Linked DNA regions of Homo sapiens: region 1 is linked to region 2. The links are contacts of gene promoters, found by promoter capture Hi-C in blood cells and fetal thymus (Javierre and others, 2016). All regions are on one chromosome and are shown on one strand. Each heading gives the region's core, a stretch centred on a gene start or on the middle of the fragment in contact. The rest is flanking DNA. Distances are from core to core; before and after follow the strand shown.

What was found. The method cuts DNA at HindIII sites, captures the fragments that hold promoters and counts their contacts. A CHiCAGO score of 5 or more calls a contact.
Region 1: a fragment that was not itself captured here is called in contact with the fragment with the promoter of ALDH4A1 in region 2 in 1 of 17 cell types (fetal thymus); the score reaches 12.3 in fetal thymus.

The regions. Positions count from the first base shown.
Region 1 is chr1:18,641,208-18,644,922 of GRCh38, forward strand. All of the region lies in intron 4 of PAX7 (paired box 7), which reads left to right. Among named protein-coding and RNA genes, the nearest start is that of PAX7, 12 kb to the left of the region's middle. RefSeq lists an enhancer at 1-265. The HindIII fragment of the contact is 6,318 bases long and covers 1-3,715 here.
Region 2 is chr1:18,900,825-18,905,041 of GRCh38, forward strand. ALDH4A1 (aldehyde dehydrogenase 4 family member A1) reads right to left here and starts at 1,731. Exons shown (of 15, transcript NM_003748.4): 1 at 1,638-1,731. The coding sequence starts at 1,699. LOC124903866 (a long non-coding RNA gene) reads left to right here and starts at 1,289. Exons shown (of 2, transcript XR_007065519.1): 1 at 1,289-1,428; 2 at 1,986-2,547. It overlaps IFFO2 (intermediate filament family orphan 2), which reads right to left. Exons shown (of 9, transcript NM_001136265.2): 9 at 3,456-4,217. RefSeq lists a silencer at 1,498-1,717 and enhancers at 1,798-2,027, 1,967-2,784. The HindIII fragment of the contact is 9,883 bases long and covers 1-2,027 here.

The sequences.
Region 1 (3,715 bases), core at 195-2,694, 260 kb before region 2:
GGGATGAATGAGCATAATCTAATAGAAGACATTTAGAAAACAAACTTTAAACAAGGGAGAACAGGCGAGCGGAGGGCAATTATCCGCCCCAGAGAGCGGGGGAAGCCGTCGGAGGTCTGGGAAGGGGTGGAAGGGAGGGGACTGGGAGCTGCGGAAGAGCTGAGTGTTGGGGGGTGCCTTTGGGACTCCGTGGGGAGCCAAGAGGGGCTCCCCAGGGCGCGCAAGAAAAGAGGCTCGGTTCCCGGATTGAGTGAGGTTCCCGTGCTCAGCCGGTCTTGGAACGCAGGCACGTCTGAACCGGGTGGGGTCCCCCGCTGCGAGGGCGTGCGGGTTTTGTGTTCCCCTCGGGGCACGCACCGCCACACTTGGGCTGTTTCAAGGCGTTTGTACCTAAAAGACTAGTGTGCACGGCGCAGCGGTTAAAGGAATTAGATATTTACCAGTTTGAAATAAGCCTGGCTAAGAAGAAGAGAGAAGAGAGACATTGAAAAGACGAGGCTGGGGGAAGACTTCAAACGAATTCATCATTTGGAATGGTGGAGGGGAGATTTACCAGACAGTATTGGGAAGTTATTTAGATATTAATAACACATTTTCCTGAGGCGCGACCACAGCAGCCATCTGCGCTGCTCTCGGAGCTATTTGGCTGGGTAAAATATGGGCGTCTCAAATGTTGGGAAGAGATAACGCAATCAGGCTAACCCTGGTCCTGAGACTGCATCGCAGCGTTAAACCCGGATTAACCTCCCCCCCCCCAACTCCCGCGGCCCCCTCCCCTTTCACAGCTTTCCAAATTTTCAGTGGAATTTACATGGAAGGATTTAAAAGCACATATAACAGTAGCCTTAAAGCAGTAAGGTGATTATTTGGGCTTTTTTTTTTAAGAATGTCTTTCTGAAAATGATAGTTGTCACACATTACATTATATATAAATAATATTATATAAAACATATTTTTATATAGGAAAAGAGGGCTGAGCAAATGAGATTTCATTCCAGGTTACCTCTTTGGAGTTTCTATTTGCCATCATTCTATCACCATCAACAAAGTTGATGAGGCTTCATTCTGTACTGTGAGGCAAGAGCACCTAAGGATATAAACATGTAATGTACAAGGTCCTGGCCGTGGCCCTGGAAGCTCATAGTCTAAGACTAGACAGAACTCACACCCCTGAAAAGACAATGCCTGGTTGAGGGAAGGGTTCCTGCACAGAGGAGAGACCCCCAAAGAAAGGTTCTCTAGAGGCTCTGGGGCCTTGAAGGCCATGACTAAGGGGGGAGGACACATTCCAGAAATTCCAGAAAAATAGCTCTTCTCTCCCTCCCATTGCAGACTAAAGGGGTAATTAGCAAACAGGATGAGGGTTAGAGGCGCTGGGAAGATTAGGATGCCCCCCTCAGTTTTTGCTGTCCGGGGCCTTCCCTCTTCTTTTCCCCTTCCCCCAACTCTGGCTGAAAGAGGAAAAGGTGGAAATGGGGTCAGCGCTTTCTGACCTGCTCTGGAGCGATTGGCCCCGGCTGGGGTGGAGCAGGGGGAGGGAGGGAGGGAACTCGCCTTCCCAAATCGAATCAAGGCAGAACGGTGACCTAAGGGGGAAACTTCGCCATTAGTAGATAGATGTCTCCAAAACTTCAAACGAAGTGGGGTGGGGGAGAGGTGAGGCGGGGAAGGAGTCCAGTGAGAGCGCAGGGGGAACTACCAGCATGGGAAGGGGAGGGGCCTGGAGGAGGAAGAGACGGGGTCGAGGGCAAAGGGGAGGCGGGGGCCAAAGGAAAGGGTGTGGGGAGGGGATGCGAAGGGAGGGGGTCGGCTGCACTTGGAACTTCAACCTCCTGGGAGAGGAAAAGCGTCTGCGGGTCGCTACAGCCTCGGGAGGGGTGAAGGGAAGTTGTGTGCGCCCCAAGTCCAGCTCAAAAGAGGCCCCGAGGGCATTCTAGGGCGCCTTGGGCACGCGTGCCAGGCCCCCGGTTTGGCAGCCGAGCTGAGCGAGGGTGGATTGCGAGGGGCACTGGGGCCGCCGCGGAGCTCTGCGTGTCGGCTGCCAGTGAATTGGCCGATTTCCCCAGTCTGAGGGTCAGCGAACGGACCTTTCCATGGCTTGGTCGCCCTGGTCCTGGAGGTGCGCTGGGCCCGAGCTCCGGTGGAGACCAAGGGAGGGGTGGGGAGAGGCAGCGGAGACAGAGAGCCACAGAGGAGGAGAGAGCTAGAAAATTCAGAGTGAGAAAGTCTGAGCGCAGCAGAAGAGAATCTTGCGCACAGTTTGAGGACGCTGGAAAATGCGGAGGCGCCGAGGGAGGCGCCGAGCAGCAGGAAGAAAGACAAAGAGATGCAGAATCACCGAGAGACTGGCCCTGGGACAGGCGGATCAGGAGAGCCAGCGGGACCTAGAGACAGCCCGCGGGAGAGCACGGGCCGAGAGGGCGAGTGCTCAAAGCCGGGCAGCGGCTAGGGGAAGATAGGAGGCGGGCGAGCCGCGGCCGCCCTTTTGATCCTTCGTGGCTTCGCCTTATCAGAAGCGCTTTCGGTGACATCCGCACAAAGGCAGTTCATCATATTACAGCACGTCCCGGCGGCTCGCTGCGATCCTGCCGCTTAATTAGAGGCGAGCGAGCTGGGCCGGCAGGGCGGGAGGGAGGCCGACCCCGAGGCGGGAGGCCGGGTTCTGCGCTCCAACCCGGGGCGCTGGGCAGGGGCCAGCCCGCGTGCCTGGCGGTGTTGGGACGTGGAGAGAGGGAGAGGCCGGGAACTGCATTCAGAGCGTTGCTAAATTAACAGGCCGGCCCGGGCTTCACTGCCCGGAGAGTGAAGCTCGCCGCCTTCCAATTTAGCCGCCGCCCCTTCTAAGTTCTTGGGAAGGGATGGCGCTCCGGCCACTTTCCCCTCTTCCAGGCTGCGAACGCTGCGGACTGGAGGGCGAGTAATGGGGAGGCAACCCAGGGCGAGCTGAAGGCTTAGTGCAACTCCGGGTCCAGGTCGCACCCACCAGCCCCCCGCGGCTGTGTTCCATCCCCTCCTCCGACCGCCTTGCTCTCCATCCGAACCCAGGTGTGCCAGGCTGGAGCAATCTGAGAGGGGCAAAGTGCATCGTGGTCGAGGTTCTACTGTCCATCCCACCCGCAACTCACTAGCGATATCACTCTAGACAACCCATTCAACTTCTTTGGGCCTCAGTTTCCTTCCATGAAAAAAGAGAATTAGCTAAGACAAATGTTGTTATCCTTTTAGGGGATCCTGGATCCCTTTAAGAATAGGCTAAAACCGAAAAAATAATTCTAAAACCTTGCCATTTACATACTTATATACTTTCATACAGGCAGAATTTTTCATCTAGTATAAAGGGGTCTTTGGGGCTTCTAGAGGCCACACCCCATTCAGAACCTCACATCTGCGTGCTTCCTGATGACTTCAGTATTCTCCAGGGAGCTTCTGATTCCAGCATCAGGAAGCTCAAAATGAGGACATGGGGCGGAGGGGCACTGAGATCCTGCCCTTGGTCTGGTCCTTGCTGCTTCCTCCCCTCTCCAAAACAGAGCGGAGAGCTTCTCCTCCACCCCACTTGGTATTGGAAGGGTCCTTTGGGAAGTGTTTATATGCTGATATAAGCACGTGTACTATGCTCCCCCTTTTACCTATACCACCCAAAAGAGAAATTTTCCTCTGGAGTGTATGTGTGTGAATGTCTTCATTCATTCTGCAAAAATTTTTGGAGCACCTA
Region 2 (4,217 bases), core at 481-2,980:
CTGATGGCAGATCGTTTCCCATGATAATACAGGAATGAGACAGTACTTACCGGCTCGGTGTTAGGCCCATGGTGCTTGATTGCTTGATAATCATTATTGTTATCATGGGCTTATCTTTTAGAATATGGATTGCTTTCTACTAGATATTGGAGGGTTTTCCTATGCATTTCTCCCCTATTAAGCCGAAAACTCCTCAAAGGCCCCACCCCATGTAAATTCCCTGGGTACCCCTCATCTCTAGGGTGTTTGGCAGAGCACCAGCTCACAGTAGGCACTCAGTAAACACAGGACTCTATAAGCTCCATCTTCCTGAGTCTCAGAGTGCAGGGAAGGCCTGCAAACGGGATCACACAGGGAGTATGGCAAGTGTGGCCCCAGTCTCAGCCTAGAAGAGGAACCCCTCTGTCCCATGTCCTCTTCCTGCGCCCTTTCCTATCCCCTCTTCACCCACAGAGGACACACAGCAGTGTTGCAACTCACTTGTGCTCAGAGCACCACCATGCCATCCCTTGGGGGAAGGGAGAGGGCCACTGATTAACTCAGAAAGGGCACAGCTCATCAGGAAAGACACTGCCACTAACAGCCCCAGGGGTCAAGCAAACAAACCTCAAATGGGAGGGGGGGCTGATCCACAGGTGGGCAGCCCCACCAGACTAGGAACCCCTCTGGGGCAGGGTCTGTGTCCCACCTACCTCTCCAAACCTAGCTCCGAGCTGGAGGGGCTCTGAGAATATTTGTCATTGAGTGGGCAAGGGTCCAGGCACCTGGCTCCACAATGTCAGGTTTGCAAATCGGGATTTGAAGGGCAGGTCCACCCCTGAACTGCTCCTGGGTTTCTTCATTATTTGGAATAATGACCTGCCTCACAGGAGTGAGAAGTTTAAATAGAGGTGATAATGATGATGATCGTGGCAATAATAATAACCGGGCGCTGCCTTTGTGCTGGGCACTGTTCAGTGCACTCCCCATGTATTAACTCATTTAATCCTCATAAGACACCTGCCAATTGCCCGGCCAGCATTTGGTTCATTATAAGCACTCTATAAATATGATTATTCCACCTACAAGAAGAAAGGAATCCTTTTTTCTGTCCAACATTTAACTTGAAAAAAAAAAAAAAAAACGGGCGGCGGGGTGTGTGGGGAGCGGAAAAGAGAGAGGTAGAAATCCTGGTAGAAGGAGAGGACTCGGGGAATCCGGGGCGGGATGGGGACACTGAACGTGAGACGAGGGTGGGGAAGTGAGATGTGTGGTGTGCTAAAAATAGAAGGGCCCCTCAGGGGAAGCCAGCAAATTGCGAAGATCCAGTATTAGGAGTGAGGTGAGTGACTACAGAGGCTACTTTCCGAGCGTGGGAACCGGCAGGGCCACCGAGGCACCCTACTCGGTCGCAGGATTCGGGAAGAGGGGTCCCCTCGCTAAAGGAAGGTGACTACCTGAGGGAGGAGGCTAAGGGATCTCAGTGGGAGAAAGGCCTGGGTGGGGGTCGGAGGGGAGCCCCTGAGGAACCCGGCGTTGACCGAGGCAGCTTGGGGGTCCGGCAGGGAGGGAGTGCGGCGCGGGGGACGCCCAGTGACTCTCAGGCTCCCGGGCCCCAGGCGCGCGCTCGGGCCGCCCCGGGCCCCGTGCTCACTCACCCGGCCCCGGTCCAGGGGCGGGACAGCAGGGCGCGGCGGAGCGCGGGCGCCGGCAGCAGCATCTCGGGTTAGAAGCGGGGCTGTTCGCTGGATCGTCCGCCCGGGCGCGGCGAGAATGCACAACCCCGTCCAGAGCGCACCACCTCGATCCTCGGGGGGAAACGGATCACCCCGGCTGTCCTCCGAGCTCGGGATCAGCCAAAGTCCCACTATATTTAGCTTCGGCTAATAAAAAATATTTCTAGTGCCATAACGGGGGCATTACACAACACAGGACAAGGGAACCCGAAAGCGAAGTCCTGAAATGCATGCGTTTTCCCCTCCTCTCTTTATGGTATGACCCGGGAGAGAGGGCGTGAACTCTGTCGACCAGTCAGAGTGACACACCAAAGCTTCTGAACCAATCAGCGGGGCGGTCCTGCGGCAGCCTTCCAAAGCGGAGCAGAGAGGGGCTGAATAGAGCCAATGAGATAACCGAAATGGGACACGTGCTGAAGCGGGGCAGAAGGACTCGCTGCGTCCGGCCCTCTGGCGTGCGCCCCGGGTTCGATGGGAGTCCGACTGACTTCTCTCGGGCTGCCGGTGGCTTGTACAAGGCTGGAAACCTGTCCGCTACCAGACTCCTCGACCCCGCAGGGCCACAGCGCGGCCAGCCCCCTGCTTCTTCCCGGGGGCTGCGGCCCCTGGAATGAGCCTGCCTTCCAGCTTCTTGGCCAGGACCCAGCCGCTCTCCACCTACCCTCCAGGCGCGGGGCCGGCCAGCTTCTTAGCTTCCTTGCAGATTACGATCAATGCAAGATAAAACCTGAGCTGGCCAACGCTTAGCTTTTCATTTAAAGCCTTTGGCCGCAAAACCAGTTGTTCCTGAGCCTTTTACCCCCAAGTAAAAATTTCAGCTTTCTTTGCAAAATGTTGTGTGCTTGGTAAACACTAGAATGCTATTTAAAACTTGGATTCTGAAGTCTTCTCTGATGACGAGGTCTCAGGGACCCAATCTATTCCTAAAGTAATGTTACGTTTCCTTACTCTCTGTTCTAATTTGTTTATATTTCTTCCAGCAGCATGAACCGCGCACCTGCTTAGGAGTCAGTTCCCATGCTGATTTTGGTTCCTCAAGCAGGGCACTAGGCAGACTACATATCCTTTCCGGGCCTCAGTTTCCTCATCTGTAAAACGGAAGTAATAGTACCCAACTCACAAAGCCCCCGTGATCTTAAGCCACTTATTTTTCTCCAGATTACACCATTTGAGGTACTTTGGGAGAATGTAAACATTTAAATGAAGAGTAGGAGAGGGAGATTACCTAAATGCCAAGTATTAGGAATGGCAAAAAGCAAATTGGAATTGGTGGCGGCTATTTGTCTTCACCTTTGGAGAAAACCCTAGACAGGTGGGCTCAGTTCACATTTGGGCAATGTTGCCCTGAACATGCCCATTGACAAGAAAAACTAGAACATTGGTTACTGTCAAATCCAGAGCCTGGGAAGGTGACCTCCTGTGGGCACGTTGGAGAGCCTGGAAAAATGGGGGCTTTGTGGTTAAAAGGACATCAGTTCCAAACCAGGCCAAGCCAGTTACTGAGCCTGTGATGTCTCATGTCCTCTCTTCCCCTTCAGTAAAATGTGTGTAATGATTCCTGCTTTGTCATCTTCCAAAGCTTTTATTGTGAGCTACAAATGTAACAGGTGATATGAAATCCCCTATTTTATGGCTAATTAACTAATGAGTTTGAGGGTTTCTGTGGCCTTCCGTCCTCCTACCCCTCCCCCAACACCAGATTCATCTTCTGTTTAAAAACAAAAACAAAAAAAAGCACCATCAGTTCTAAGACATTTCACTTTATTTAAAAGAAGCCAATATACAGGATATAAAGGGCATGATATTTACAACAGTACAGTAAACAGGTTGGTTTCCGGTAGGATCAGTAGTCTTTCCATGAGTATAAATCCCCCCCTTCCCTGTGATGCTAGACCCAGCTGGCAGACAACAGCAACGGTGGGGCAGGATCATGGGGTATAAAGTCTCCCTGGGTGGGGCTAAAAATCAGGTAGATGCAAAAACATCCACAAGGGGTCTTGCAGGGAAGGGCTTTGCCTCATTTCTTTGAGGGCTTGGGAGGGAAGGGTCTTGGTGAGGGATTTGCTCAGAACTAACACACAGCCCACCCTGAGCCTGGAAATCATCCATTCATAGAAAATTCCCTTCCAGAGAGAATCTGGCTTTACCTGCACCCACCCAGTCCCCTCCAGACTCCCCACTCCAGGAGAGAGCTCTTCTAGAGCCAGAGCTTGGTGTCTCAAGGGGGAAGACCCCTGTCCTAGGAAACCCCCAGCACCCTGATCCCTCCCCCCAGGGCCCTGGGGGGAACATAGCAAGGACTGCAGCCCAGGCTTGGCCTGGAGTAGACACAGCCGGGGCTGGGCTATGAGCATCTTAAGCCATTTCCACTTCTGCTCCAGCTGCCTGACCACCTGGGACCCGCAAAGGCCCAGGCTCCAAGGAAGTCGTGTGCTCCCACTGTCACCCATGCTCTGCTGCCTCCCAACCCTCTCCCAACGCAACTGGGTTGGAAATGGATCT